Linked DNA regions of Homo sapiens: region 2 is linked to region 1. The links are contacts of gene promoters, found by promoter capture Hi-C in blood cells and fetal thymus (Javierre and others, 2016). All regions are on one chromosome and are shown on one strand. Each heading gives the region's core, a stretch centred on a gene start or on the middle of the fragment in contact. The rest is flanking DNA. Distances are from core to core; before and after follow the strand shown. Region 1 holds the start of IGFBP6 (insulin like growth factor binding protein 6). Region 2 overlaps SP7 (Sp7 transcription factor).

What was found. Contacts are between HindIII fragments. The CHiCAGO score rates a contact against its expected background, and 5 or more counts as called.
Region 2: a fragment that was not itself captured here is called in contact with the fragment with the promoter of IGFBP6 in region 1 in 1 of 17 cell types (fetal thymus); the score reaches 5.1 in fetal thymus.

The regions. Positions count from the first base shown.
Region 1 is chr12:53,092,348-53,100,092 of GRCh38, forward strand. It overlaps IGFBP6 (insulin like growth factor binding protein 6), which reads left to right and starts at 5,320. Exons shown (of 4, transcript NM_002178.3): 1 at 5,320-5,704. The coding sequence starts at 5,371. RefSeq lists silencers at 5,628-5,707, 5,718-5,837, 7,125-7,340. The HindIII fragment of the contact is 8,294 bases long and covers 1,834-7,745 here.
Region 2 is chr12:53,321,786-53,328,296 of GRCh38, forward strand. SP7 (Sp7 transcription factor) reads right to left here. Exons shown (of 3, transcript NM_001173467.3): 3 at 4,790-6,511. The coding sequence ends at 6,361. Among named protein-coding and RNA genes, the nearest start is that of AAAS, 3.4 kb to the left of the region's middle. RefSeq lists enhancers at 2,004-2,737, 6,002-6,511 and a silencer at 3,051-3,550. The HindIII fragment of the contact is 2,736 bases long and covers 1-2,618 here.

The sequences.
Region 1 (7,745 bases), core at 4,070-6,569:
AATCCCAGTACTTTGGGAGGCTGAGGTGGGAGGATCACTTGAGTCTAGGAGCTCAAGCTCCTATATTGTCCAGCCTGGACAATATAATAATAAGATCCTGTCTATATAAAATACTTTTTTTTCTTTTTTGAGGGGGGTTTCGCTCTCGTTGCACAGGCTGGAGTACAATGGTGTGATCTCAGCTCACTGCAACCTCCGCCTCCTGGGTTTAAGCAATTCTCCTTCCTCAGCCTCCCAAGTAGCTGGGATTACAGGCATGCGCCATCATGCCAGGCTAATTTTTTTGTATTTTTAGTAGAGACGAGGTTTCACCATGTTGGTTTCACCAGGCTGGTTTCGAATTCCTGACCTCAGGTGATCTGCCCACCTCGGCCTCCCAAAGTGCTGGGATTACAGGCGTGAGTAAGCACACCTGGCCTAAAAAATTAAAAAATTAGCCAGATGTGGTGGTGCGTGGCTGTGGTCCCAACTACTCTGGAGGCTGAAATGGAAGGATTACTTGAGCCCATGAGGTTGAGGCTGCAGTGAGCTGTGACTGAGCCACTGCACTCCAGCCTGGGTGACAGAGTGAGACCCTGTTTCAAAAAAAAAAGAATGTGGCTAGTGATGAGGGGAGTGAAGGGAGGGTCCTTGTAAGCTGAAAGCTTGGAGTTCAGGGGAAGAAATGATCTCTGAGCACCAATTATGCCTCATCCTCATTTCCCCTTATCCCATTTCAATCCCCAAGATGAGAAACTACCAGGGGGTTCTGGGGAAGGTGATTCAGCCAGCTAACTGAAGCAGAGTGTGTTTCAGGGTCATTGTCTACGGGACCCTGAATGTCAGGTGGAGCACAGGTTCTATGGTAGGGGAGGACATCGAGGAATAACACACACCGGGACCTGTGGGGTCGGGGGGCAAGGGGAGGGAGAGCATCAGATCAAATAGCTAAGGCATGTGGGGTTTAATACATAAATATATGGACTGGGCATGGTGGCTTATGCCTGTAATCCCAGCATTTTGAGAGGCTGAGGCGGGCAGATCATGAGGTCAGGAGTTGGAGACCAGCATGATCAACATGGTGAAACCTCGTCTCTACTAAAAATACAAAAATTAGCCGGGCACGGTGGCACGTGGCTGTAATCCCAGCTACTCAGGAGGCTGAGGCAGGAGAATCACCTGAACCCAGGAGGCAGAGGTTGCAGTGAGCCGAGTTCGCGTCACTGCACTCCAACCTGGGCGACAGAGCCAGACTCCGTCTCAAAAAAAACGAAAAACAAAAAACATAAATACATAAGTGATGGATTGATAGGTGCAGCAAACCACTGTGGCACATGTTTACCTATGTAACAAACCTGCACATTCTGCACATACATCCCAGAACTTAAAGTAAAATTTAAAAACCAAGAAATAAAAAGTAAAGTGCCCCCGAAATCCTTGAGGAGAAGAGAATTATGGGATCAGGAGCACATTTCAGCAGGACCAGTTTGGATGGTATGTGTGGGAGAGATGGCAGAAAACAGAGGCTGCAGGTTAGCTGAGGTTTACACAGTAGTTCCCATCAGGCCCACGTCAGCCTTAGGCCATGTCATGATGTGATGTGGTCATTGAACTTCCTCTCTGGGACTTTCTGTCTGTGGACTGTGCCACTGTTTCTCGTCTCAAATTTAAAGCTGAATATGGTCCAGGCAGGCCCCTTCCTTTATCCCTTGTTCTCAAAAGGAAGTCAGCACTTGGGGCACCATGAATTTAGAGGGACGGGTTGAGTGTGAGAGACACAGCATGAAGGATCAGAAAACCAGGGTATAATGTAGATGCGGAGGAGGAAGTTCCAGTAGAGTTTGTTTATGGAAAAGCTTAAGTGATAGCCCAAGCTATTTAGCCTTTCCTCAGCCTGGAAGAAACTTCTCAGCAAACCCTTCTCACACAAAGGCCAGACAGAATCCGACAGTTTTGTACCTTGGCCCACACTCTTGGTCTGAGTGCTGAACATGTGCTTCAGATTTCTGCCCTGGGTACTAAGGCAGAGGGCATCCCAATGGCAGGAAGGCAGAGTTCAAGCGTCTCAGTCTGCAAAGAGACCGGTTAGACCCTCAGTGCTGATGGCCATACAACTGGGGATCATGCTAGAGGGAGGGGGAAACAGGGAAGTGTAATCCTGGGGTGGTGGGTGGAACTGGACTGTGCAATCGGGCTTAGAATCTAGAAAGTAACAGCTGGGCAGGTGGGAGCGGCAGGCAGGGAGAATCTGAGGCAGTGGTAGCAGCGTGGGAAGCGGGGGCTGGAAATTGAGGAGGGTTGAGGAGGGAGTGGTGGATGTTAGAAGCTGGCAAAGTGTTGGGCTTTTTCTGAACGATAACCTACAAAGGAGTAGCACAGCCTTTTTTTTTTTTTTTTTTTTTTTTTTTTTTTTTTCTTTGAGACAGGGTCTCACTCTGGTTGTTCCAGGCTGGAGTGCAGTGGTGTGATCTTGGCTCATCCCTTCCACCTTAGCCTCCTAGGTAGCTGGGACTAAAGGCATGCACCACCACATCTGGCTGATATTTTGTATTTTTAGTAGAGATGGGGCTTGGTCATGTTGCCCAGGCTGGTCTGGAACTCCTGGGCTCAATTGATCCTCCCACCTTGGCCTCCCAGAGTGCTGGGATTACAGGCATGAATCACTATGACAAACATCTTTAAAGAGCCACATCAATCTGGGTGCAGTGGCTCACACCTATAATTCCAGAACTCTGGGAGGCCAAGGCGGAAGGATCACTTGAGCCCAGGAGTTCCAGACCAGCCTGGGCAACATGTCGAAACCCCCTCTCTGCTAAAAATACAATTAGCCAGGCGTGGTGGTGTGTGCCTGTAGTCCCAGCTACCTGGGAGGCTAAGGTGGGAGGATCTTCTGAGCCCAGGAGGTCAAGGTTACAGTGAGCCGTGATGGAGTCACTGCACTCCAGCCTGGGAAATAAAATGAGAACCTGCCTCAAAAAAAAAAAAAATCTAGAACCAGACCAGAAATACCATTTGACCCAACGATCCCATTACTGGGTATATACCCAAAGGAATATAAATCATTCTATTATAAAAATACATGCACATGTATGTTTATTGCAGCACTATTCACAATAGCAAAGACATAGAACCAACCCAAATGCATGGAATACTATGCAGCCATAAAAAGGAATGTGATAATGTCCTCTGCAGGGACATGGATGAAGCTGGAAGCCATCATTCTCAGCAAACTAACACAGGAACAGAAAACCAAACACTACATGTTCTCACTTATAAGTGGGGGCTGAAAACAATGAGAAAACATGGACACAGGGAGGGGAACAACACACACTGGGGCCTGTGGCGGGGTAGGGGCTAGGGGAGGGAGAGCATCAGGTCAAATAGCTAATGTATGCGGGACTTAATACCTAGGTGTTGGGTTGACGGGCAGCAAACCACATGGCACATGTTTACCTATGTAACAAACCTGCACATTCTGCACATGTATCCCAGAACTTAAAATAAAATAAAATAAAATTTAAATTTAAAAAAGAGCCACACTGGGATCCTGCAAGAGCACAGCCATCTCTTTCCCCTTCCCAACTTCCCACAGGCTTTCCATCTTATTCAGGAGCACCAACCCGAAGTCCAGGAGAAAGACCCTAAGACCCTAGCCAGAACCATGTGTAGGACAAAATAAATAGTGATAAAGGGTGTGCAGCAGGACCCCAGTACTCTGGAACCCATCTCTGACAGCCTTGGTTCCAGGGAGCTTGGTCAGAGCTTGTGGCAGGGGGTTGAAGAGCCTTGGTGGAAGGGGTGCTTTCTCTCACCCCTTTCCCAATTTTGCCCTTCCTCTCCTCTGCCCTGGTCTACTTCTCCCATCAGCAGTAGCTTCTCCCATCAGCTGCCCCACAACCCTCTCCTCCCTGCCTCTCCAGTCTGCATCAGTATCTCAGGGAAACAGGAAAACACCATTCTCCAAACACATGTCCTAGGGTCCCAGGGTTGCATGGCGAAGCGGGCTGTGCTGACAATGAGGTTCGTATTATTTCTATTTACCTAAAAGTTCAAGAAGGCCTTGCTGACATTGTTGCTTGGGGCCCAGCATTTAAACTTAGTCACTGCCCAGAGCCCTTGTTTTAGGAAAGAATGAGATGGTCCCTGTTGCATAACCCAGAGTTGGGTGGGTGTGGGTTGCCGAAGGAAACAATCCCTCTTCCTCTCTCTTGTGAGGCCTGGCTAGGAGTGCCTGGGATGGGCGGGACACTGCCTGGGGAAGGCGGGTGGGGAGCGGTGGAACCCGACCCTTGGAGCGAAGGCGGACAAGTAGGTAGGCAAAGATGCTGAGTAGTCCCTCCCCAAAGTCCCCTGGGCACAAGACAGTCTGATGAATCTAGAAAACCCCATGGATGACTGGGAGGGAAGGAAACGGATTCTGGGAGAGGAGAGGAATGGAGGAGCGAGCTTACCTGAAGGACGGGGATGGGGAGGGGGGTGGGGTCTGCTCTCTGGCCACTGTCCCCAAGAGCATCCCGAATACGAGTTCCTTTAATTCTCTCCCTCTCTAGTTTCAACCTGCCAATTTCCCCCTTTCCCTGCCTCCCAGCCAGTTCTCACCCTGCACACAGCCCTCTCCAATCCTTCCAGACTCCGCATGCGCCCACCACAATGCTAGGGTCTCCTACGGTTCATTCAAGTTGTATCCCTCCCTGCCTCCCGGCCCTTCCCCCATTGGCTTACCCCAGTCTGGTTCCCCTCGGGCCCCTTTTCTCCATAGTCTTACCTCAAGGGTGCTTTCTCTTACTCCTTTCCCAATTTTGCCCTTCCTCTCCTCTGCCCTGTTCTACTTCTCCCATCAGCAGTAGAATTTCCCAAGACCCCGTTATCCACCCTCTCCATCTTTTCTCTGTCCCTCCACATTTGCCCACTCCTCTTGTGATCCACACACACCATCTCTTCTCAGTTCCCTTTCAGCCCCCGTCTTCTCACTCCCCACCGGGTCCCTGCATGCCCCTCGTCGTCCTACACATACACACTAAGTGGATTGCACTCCCGTCCTCCCCTTCTTCCGCTCCTCCCCACCCTCCAGTCCCTCCAGCCAGCTGTACAGCTCCCAAATTCCGGGCCGAGATTCCCGGGAACAAAGCAAGAAAAATCAGAGCAATTTGGGAAGTAAACAGAAACTGGAAAGGGAGAGGGAAAGAAGAGTGGGGAGGACCCAGGTTGGGGGGGCCCTCTCCAGTCCCACCCAGTTTAGGGAATGCCCCTGCCCTCTCCCCCACCCCCCTTCACCTGGCTCTTAAAGGGCCCGGCCCCTGGCCGGCGGCTACTTAAGACAGAGGGGCGGCGGCGGGCAGCAGCTGCGCTGCGACTGCTCTGGAAGGAGAGGACGGGGCACAAACCCTGACCATGACCCCCCACAGGCTGCTGCCACCGCTGCTGCTGCTGCTAGCTCTGCTGCTCGCTGCCAGCCCAGGAGGCGCCTTGGCGCGGTGCCCAGGCTGCGGGCAAGGGGTGCAGGCGGGTTGTCCAGGGGGCTGCGTGGAGGAGGAGGATGGGGGGTCGCCAGCCGAGGGCTGCGCGGAAGCTGAGGGCTGTCTCAGGAGGGAGGGGCAGGAGTGCGGGGTCTACACCCCTAACTGCGCCCCAGGACTGCAGTGCCATCCGCCCAAGGACGACGAGGCGCCTTTGCGGGCGCTGCTGCTCGGCCGAGGCCGCTGCCTTCCGGCCCGCGCGCCTGCTGGTGAGTCCGCGCCCCGCCCCTGCCCCGCCCACGTGAGACCCGCGTCCTCCAGGCAGGGTCCTGGGGAGACGGGAGTGGGTGGCCCGGCAAGCCTTTCCGCCCTGGCCCTTGACGCTTCCGACTTTGGGGGGCACATTTGTGTGGGGGAGAAGGGGCAAGTGCAGGAAGCTGAGGTGCAGCCAGGGGACCTGGTGATACAGCAGAAGGTGTCTGCGCTCTCGGCCTTCTTTTTTGCTCCATTTATTTTCCCTTGATGGAGTGTGCGTGCAGGTGGGAACTTGGGGGAGGCAGGGGGAGAAATGGGAGGGTTTTAGGGCCATCCCATGGGCTCCAGCAGGCCCAGCTCCTACAACCCTAGACGGCCAAGCTGGGGAAAGGACCCAAATGTTGTTCTCAGCTTCCACTTGGAGAAAAGGGGAGGGGAACCCCAGACTCTGAAATTCTGCACACACTGAGAAATGACTCCTTTCCTCCTAATACCGGTGTTCGAAGCACCTAAACAGGAGGCGTCTAGAACCGAAGAGGCCCCAAATCCAGGGTTGTATTAGACTTGAGTAGGGACTGAGGGCAGGCTAGGGCGTAGGTTAGGGGAGAGGGGAGAAAGAGTAGGGGAAAGAGGGAATCTGCCAAATCAGGGTTATGATTTAAACCTGCTCAGAATCGTTCACCCATCCTACCCCACCCTGCTCCAGGGAGGAGAGCAGAAGCTGAGTCACTGGGTGGGTGGGACAGAAGTGAATCAGCCGTGAAAACATGGGGGGCAGCGGGGAGATGGGGAGGGCAGGAAATGCAAACTGCGCATCCCAGAGGCTCTGGGTTCCTTCCACGGGAGGGGATGGAGAATTCACTTGGAGTTTCTTTCAGTTCCAAATGCCCGAGTGCAGGCTTCTGGGCGTCCTCCTAAAAGGTGGTCTGGGTGGATGAGAGGAGGCAGTTTGGAACTAAATGGTTGGGTGCTAAATGTAGGGAATGAAGGAGAAGGTCTGGGGAGGGGTGGGCATCCTGAGGAAGAAGGATCAGACTCAGGATTGCAGGGGAAATGTCTCCTGGGTTGTGAGTGGTAGTTAGCTGGGAGCTTGTCTTTAGGCACAGAGGAAGAGGATCCCTTCAGGGGTTCTGATATCTGATTAGATGTTAGGCAAATTCCAAGCAGTCAGTACATGCTCCCCTTTCTGCCTTTTCCTGTCCCTGACTTATTTCCTCACCCCTTCCCAGTCCTGAGCTCTCCCCGGACCCTCCGGAAACTTTCTCCAGAGCCAGGAGCAACCTGCAGGTTGGAAGCCCCTCATTCCTTGCACCTTCTTAATCTGCCCTCAGCCTATCTTGGTTAAGGGTTGAATCCATGTGCTCCTGGGACCACTGGGGTTGAGCTGGCCTGGGTCACAGGGTACCAGAAGGGAGAGGTTCCCACTGCAGTGCCCCAGAAGTAACCACATCTCAGGCCTGGGAGGGGTGGGTTGAGTCATAGCAAGGTCACAGCAGGGACACACATTCCTTTTGGGTCCCTGTTGGCCCCCCTCCTACATCCGTTGCTCTTCTGCCCCAGCTCTCCGGCTTCGTGCGCCCCCTTCTGGCCTCTGGTGGAACAGCCAGGTCTTTTCACCCAAAGCCCAAAGCCCCAAATAGTCCTTTGAATTTGTTCTCCATTTTTTCATTTATTTTATTATTTATTGTAATTAATTGATTGATTTTTAAATTAGTTAATTTTTTAAAATTAAGTAATTAGTTAATTTTTTAAAATTAAGTAATTAATTAATTTTTTAAAATTAAGTAGTTAATTTTTTTTAATTAAGTAATTAATTAATTTTAAAAAGTATTTATTTATTTTGAGACAAAGTCTCACTCTGTTGCCCAGGCTGGAGTACAGTGGTCCAGCGTCTCACTGCAACCTCCGCCCCCCCGAGTTCAAGCGATTCTCCTGTCTCAGCCTCCGGAGTAGCTGGGACTACAGGAGCCTGATACCATGCCAGGCTAATTTTTGTATTTTTAGTGGAGACGGGGTTTCACCATGTTGGCCAGGCTGGTCTCGAACGCCTGACCT
Region 2 (6,511 bases), core at 1-2,500, 230 kb after region 1:
GTTTTTCCCAGCTCCGAATTCCCGAACACCTTCTCCCACTCACTATCTTAGCGCTTAGAAAGCCCGAAATAAGCCACATTCAGGGAAGTACCAAATTAATCCTCCCAGGCCTGTGGATCACCCAGAGGAAAATACAGGCTATGTCACAGGCAGCTGGCTGGAAAGCTGAGGGAAAAGCCTCAGAGAGGAGGAACAGTGCTGCACCCACACGGTTAGGCGTCCTGGAAAGGGAGGTGGGGACGGTTGGAAAACTAACATTTCCTGCCAGGCGCGGTGGCTCACGCCTGTAATCCCAGCACTTTGGGAGGTCGAGGTGGGTGGATCATCTGAAAGGAGTTCGCAGACTAGCCTGGCCAACATGCTGAAAACCCCATCTATACTAAAAATACAAAAATTAGTCGGGCGTGGTGGCGGGCACCTGTAATCCCAGCTAATCGGGAGGCTGAGGCAGGAGAATCTCTTGAACTCCGGAGGGGGAGGTTGCAGTGAGCCAAGATCGCACCATTGCACTCCAGCCTGGGTAACAAGAGGGAAACTTCGTCTCAAAAAGGAAAACTTTATTTTATTTTATTTTTTTGAGAGACAGGGTCTCGCTCTATTGCCCAGGATGAAGGCAGTGGTGCTATCTCAGCTCACTGCAACCTCTGCCTCCCCGGTTCAAGCGATTATCCTGCCTCAACCTCTGGAGTAGCTGGGATTACAGGCATGCTTCACCACGCCCAGCTAAGTTTGTATTTTTAGTAGAGACGAGGTTTTACCATGTTGGCCAGGCTGGTCTCAAACTCCTGACCTCAAGTGATCTGCCTGCTTTGGCCTCCCAAATTGCTGGGATTACAGGCCTGAGCCACCTTGCCGGGCTGCAAAACTATTTCCTGAGCACTTGTTACGATAAGTGCTTTTATAATCTTTACAACCCCATAAGGTGGGTGCTGTTCTGTCACCATGAGGAAAGTGAGTCACAGAGAGATTGGACCTAGATACACCCAAACCAGTTATTCTCACTTAAGAATAAAAGTAAGGCTGGGTGTGGTAGCTCACACCTGTAATCCCAGCACTTTGGGAGGCCGAGGCTGATCTCTTGAGCCCAGGAGTTCAAGACCAGCTTGGGCAAAATAGCAAGACCCTGTATCTACAAAAAATTCAAAAGTTAGCCAGCGTGGTGGTGGCAAGCGTCTTTAGTCCAGCTACTCAGAAGGCTGAGATAGGAGAATCCAGACTACAATGATCCAAGATAGCACCACTGCACTCCAGCCTGGGTCAAAGAGCGAGACCCTGTCAAGCAAGCCAGAGAGAAAGAGCCGGGCGCGGTGGCTCACGCCTGTAATCCCAGCACTTTGGGAAGCTGAGGTGGGCTGATCCCCTGAGGTCGGGATTTCGAGACCAGCCTGACCAACATGGAGAAACCCCATCTCTACTAAAAAATACAAAACCAGCCAGGCATTGTGGTGCATGCCTGTAATCCCAGCTACTCGGGAGGCTGAGGCAGGAGAATCCCTTGAACCTGGAAGGCGGAGGTTGCAGTGAGCAGAGATCGCGCCACTGCACTCCATCCAACCTGGGCAACAAGAGCGAAACTCCGTCTCAAAAAAAAAAAAAAACAAAAAACAAAACAAAACAAAAAAAAATGGGAGGGAAGGGAGAGGGAGAAAGAAAGGAAAGAAAGAAAGAGAATGGGGGCCCCTCTTACAGACTTTGGAAAAAACATTGAATTCTTTGAGTCTCACTTTTCTCATTTGCAGTGTCCTAATTATTTCATATGGTTGTTTTCCATACAAAATAATAAAATGAAGCTATTTAATAAATTTTAAAGTGCTAAACAAATGTCAGAGGTTAATAGCTATAACTGTGCCATCAACTAGGTGACCTTGGTCAGAGTTCATTAACAAATGTTAAGTGATTTGAAGATGTAGAAGGCTGTCCCCACTCCCAAGAGCTACCAGTCTCATTGAATAATCTAGGGGGCATTTAGTTCTAGTATTCTGGATTCCGTGTCTGCCCTTCTTTTTCACCTGAAAAATTCCCCCCAAGAGAGTTATTACCAGGTCAGAAAACAAAGGGCTCCAGAGTCTCCTGAAAATGCACTTCACCTGAGAAGGCAAGTGGATCTCCTCTAATCTAGTACTTCTCAACTGTTAAGGGACATAGGAATCACCTGAGCATCTCCTAAGGTGGCGCTCAGAGGCTATAGTTCCAAAGAATCCCCAGCTGATACTGCACAGACCACATTTTAAGTAGCAAGGCTCTAACCTAGCGGTCCCCAACTTTTTGGCACCAGGTTTAGTGGAAGACAGTTTTTCCAGGGGGAGCGGGGGAGGGAATGGTTTGGGGATGAAACTGTTACACCTGAGATCATCAGGCATTAGTTGGATTCTCATAAAAAGCGGGCAACCTAGGTCCTTCACGTGCGCAGTTCACAACAGAGTTCGCGCTACTATGAGAATCTAATGCCGCTGATCTGACAGGAGGCGGAGCTCAGCTTGCTCAGCTCGTCTCCGGCTGTGCGGTTCCTTTACAGGCCACCGACACGACGGGCCGTGGCGCGACCCCTGCTCTAACCTTTTCCCATAGCCCCATTTAATTTCCTATGTGAGTTCACCGTCACCTGGGAAGTCACAGAAAGCTTGAAGAACATAAGGTATACACTGGGGATGGTTTGGGGAACCTGGCTGGGAAAGCCTCCCTGAGAAGGGGAAGTGGGCAGGTTTGAGGGAGAGGAAGTCGGTGACTGACAGATTAGTGGAGAGCACTGAGGACCCACGATAGTTTCCGTTTGTACCTTAGTCGTAACACCATCCAAACCCAGATACCCCTAGGAAAAATCACTCCGGCCTGCAACTTGCATCCTTCGATGAAACCTCGATTTTCACCATCAGGTTATAATGATCGGTTAGGTGCCTGCTTCTTACCCTGTAAGGTGAACTGGAGAGAAGGAACAGTGCTGTTCCGCCCGCTGCCCCCGCCCTGGCCTGGCACAAGTACTGTCCCCTCCTCCATACTGCTTATTTAACGTTTGTGGAACGCTTTTCACCATTTGCGGGTTCTAGAAAGGCCCAAGTCCAGGCCCGGCGCGCTCACCCAGTAACTTCACCAGGGGGCGCGGCTGGCCAGGCAACGCAGCGACCGTGACCCACGCCCTATGGGCTCCGAGCGCTTAGCGGGCGGTCTCCGCCGGCCCCTCCCTACGACCTGGGCGGGAACCGAGAGAGCGCGCAGGCCGCTTCTAAAAGGGGCCCCCTACTTTGGGAGTCGTCACCGGAGCCTGGGTGCCCGGAGCTCCGCCCGCTACCCCTTCCCGGGCCCGCTGGAGCCCGGCGTCCCGACCCGGGGCCGGTAACCAGGCGCACATGGCCCGCCCGGCCCTGTTTGTCCTGGCAGCGCGCCGCCGCTATTTGAAGCGGTTTTTATCTCCCAGAAACCAGCAAAACCCCAAGCGGAGTCTAGGGAAGATGAAAGGGGCCGAAGGGTTGGGGAGGGGAGGACCGCGAGGCTGCGGCGGGCGGGAGCTGGCACCGGACAGGCGGAGACCGGGAGGCGAGAGGGCCAGACTCTGGGGGGTCCGGAGGAGCCCGCCCGGCGGGGTTGAGGCGGGATCCCGGGGTTCCACTCCAGGCCGCCGCCTCGCTCAGACCAGCTCCAAGGCGCCCCCCGCCTTTCCTCTGCCCCAGCCCCCTCTCCCGGGTCTCTTCCGTCACAGCCCCCAGCCCACTAAAGAAGTCTTCGGAACTCGGATTTCTTCAAAGCGCCTTTGAAGTCGCGCGCCCAGCCGGAGGGCAGGAGATTTCGCACCTGGGCGGGGGCGGGAGTGGCGTCAGGGTGGGGAGGGGGCTCGTAACCCGAGCCCCCCCAGGATCGCCGGCCCCCTCCCACCCGTAGCAGCCCCTCTTGCGACCCGTGCGGTGGACAGTCCGACGCGGGGCGCAGCTGGGAGTCGGGCCCAGGCCGGGGGGAGCGGCCTGTGAGCCCCCTCAGCCCAGCGGGGTAACCTTGGGGGGCGGGGGCCGCACAAAGCCCTATTGTGGCTCGGGGATGCTGCCACAGAGTGGTTTTTGTTCTTCGGCTAACTCCGTGGCGGGCACGACTGATTGCAGACCCAGGGCAGGGGGCGGGTTACGTGCCAGGCCCAGTCTGCCCGCCGGGAGCCGCACCACCGCCCGACTGGGGCCGCGCAGGAGTCCGCACTGCAACCGCGGTGCCCGCGCTCGGGTCGCGTCACTGCCCTGACCAGGGTCAGTTGGTGCAGTCCAGAAAGGGCCAGGGTAGAAACCAGTGAGTCTTCCCAACTCTGCAGAAAGCACTGCACGCCCAAAAACTGAACACCGCTGGAGGATTTGACCGAGAAACAATTTTGTTTTGTGTTTTGTTTTGAGACGGAGTCTCGCTCTGCAGCCCACGCTGGAGTGCAGTGGCGCGATCTCAGCTCACTGCAACCTCCACCTCCCAGGTTCCACGATTCTTCTGCCTCAGCCTCCCAAGCAGCTGGGATTACAGGCACCTGCCATCACGCCCGGCTGATTTTTGTATTTTTTAGTACAGACAGGGTTTCATCATGTTAGCGAGGATGGTCTCGAACTCCTGACCTCAGGTGATCCGCCCTTCTGGGCTTCCCGAAGTGCTGGGATTACATGTGTGAGCCACCACGCCCGGCCGATAAACTATTTTACCGCGAGCATAGGTGAGCAAACGTGCACAATAGAATATTCGCCCATGAGTAGTCCCCAATTTGCTAAGGAAAAAAAACCATTGGCCCTCGCTTCACCCTTCCTCTTCTCCTTTTCTCACCAGGACAAAATTTCAAATCCAACTTTTATTTATTAAATTAAAAAAAAAAGACTCCACAAAGGGCATGATCCCTTCCATTCCACAATGTTCTCTCCCCAAGCTCCAGCGGCTTTAACCCTTTAACTTGGGGCCTTGAGACAGCAGGGGACAGAAAAGGAGGATCCAACGTTACAGGAAAGGCACGAAGCGGCTTTAAAAGTCACTGGAGGTGGAGATGGGAGCATCCAAAGTCCCAGGGTGGGGGTGCGTGGATGCACCACCAGATCAGCTTGGGGGCCTCTGTCCTCCTAGCTCTTTAAGTTCTTTCTCAGGGCTTCTAGGCACCAGATCTAGCATAGTGCCTTGCACAGAGTAGGCACTCAATACATACTTATTTGAATCTGATCCTAGAGAAAGCCTTCCCCACCCATTCTTCAGGAGGTGCACCCCCAAACCAATGTCCTCCTGTTAGATGGGCTTCCCCAAAGAGCACATCTAAGATGGCAGCTGCAAGCTCTCCATAACCATGGCAACAGGGGATTAACCTGATGGGGTCATGGTGTCTAAGGGGTGGGGCAGTGGAGGAACCTGCTCTGCAGTCAAGGGAGATGGGGTACATTCCAGTCCTTCTCCCCTCCATAGGACTTGAGGTTTCACAGCTTCTGGCTGGGGCTGGGGATATTAGGGATCCCCCTAATCAAGAGATACCCCATCAACTGTTTAGCAGAGATGTAGCTAACCCAATTTGTAGAGACTTCATTACAAGAGAAACCCTATCAACTGAGATTCTGATGATAGACATTCTATTAACAAGATCTTCTCCACTAACATTTTGTCTATACAGAGATGCATTTGACTAGAATTTCCTTAGCAGAAATGGATCCACTTCCCTCCCCAGCTCACTCTACCTGACCCGTCATCATAACTTACATAAATAGAATTATTACTATTCATTACTCCTGGTACATAGGGGTTAAATATACAGGCCTGGGGGCAGCCTCCCTGACCCTGGGGTCACCCCATCTTTGGGATCAGATCCCCACTGGTCTGCCCCCCTCTTGGCACCCTCTGGCCAGGTCACTAACCCCAATACCCCTGATGAAGAGGCCACCAGGGGGCAATAAATTATCATTATCATTGTGTTTGTAAAAAGGAAAAAAGAGTTCTGGAGAATGGAAAGCAATGGTGTAAGAAGTTGGGAAGACTGAAGCCTGGAGGCTGAGGGACAGCAGGAAATAAGCTTGAGAAGCAGAAAGGGGTACATGTCAAGGAGTGAGATGGAGAAATAGTGTTGGGAGCCCAAATAGAAAGTGTGTTGGTGTGGCAGGGCCAGAGTCTAGGAAGCCGGAGTGCAGGTATCAGGCACAAGGGGAGGGCCTGAGATGAGAGTTTGTGGAAAGCCAGTCTCATGGTGAAGAGAGAAGGTGAGCTGAGGAGGCATGCAAGGAGATACCCAAGCCCAGAATGGCCAGGAGGGAGACAGAGGGAGAGAGCCCCGAAGGATGGCATGCATGGGGTAAAGAGAGTGATTGGCAAGCAGTGGTCTAGAGAGCCAAGAGAGACTGTCAGGGCAGCCCTGGGGTGGGAGACCTTCCACCCGGCTCAGATCTCCAGCAAGTTGCTCTGCTCAGGGCTGCCTCCAGGGGCTTTCTCTGGGGTTGCTGGCGAGGCAGAAGGTCGGGGCGTCTGACTGGCCTCCTCTTCCCCCGTGCTGCGGCCCTCCCCCAGCTCCTTGGGGCCACTGGGAGGGGGA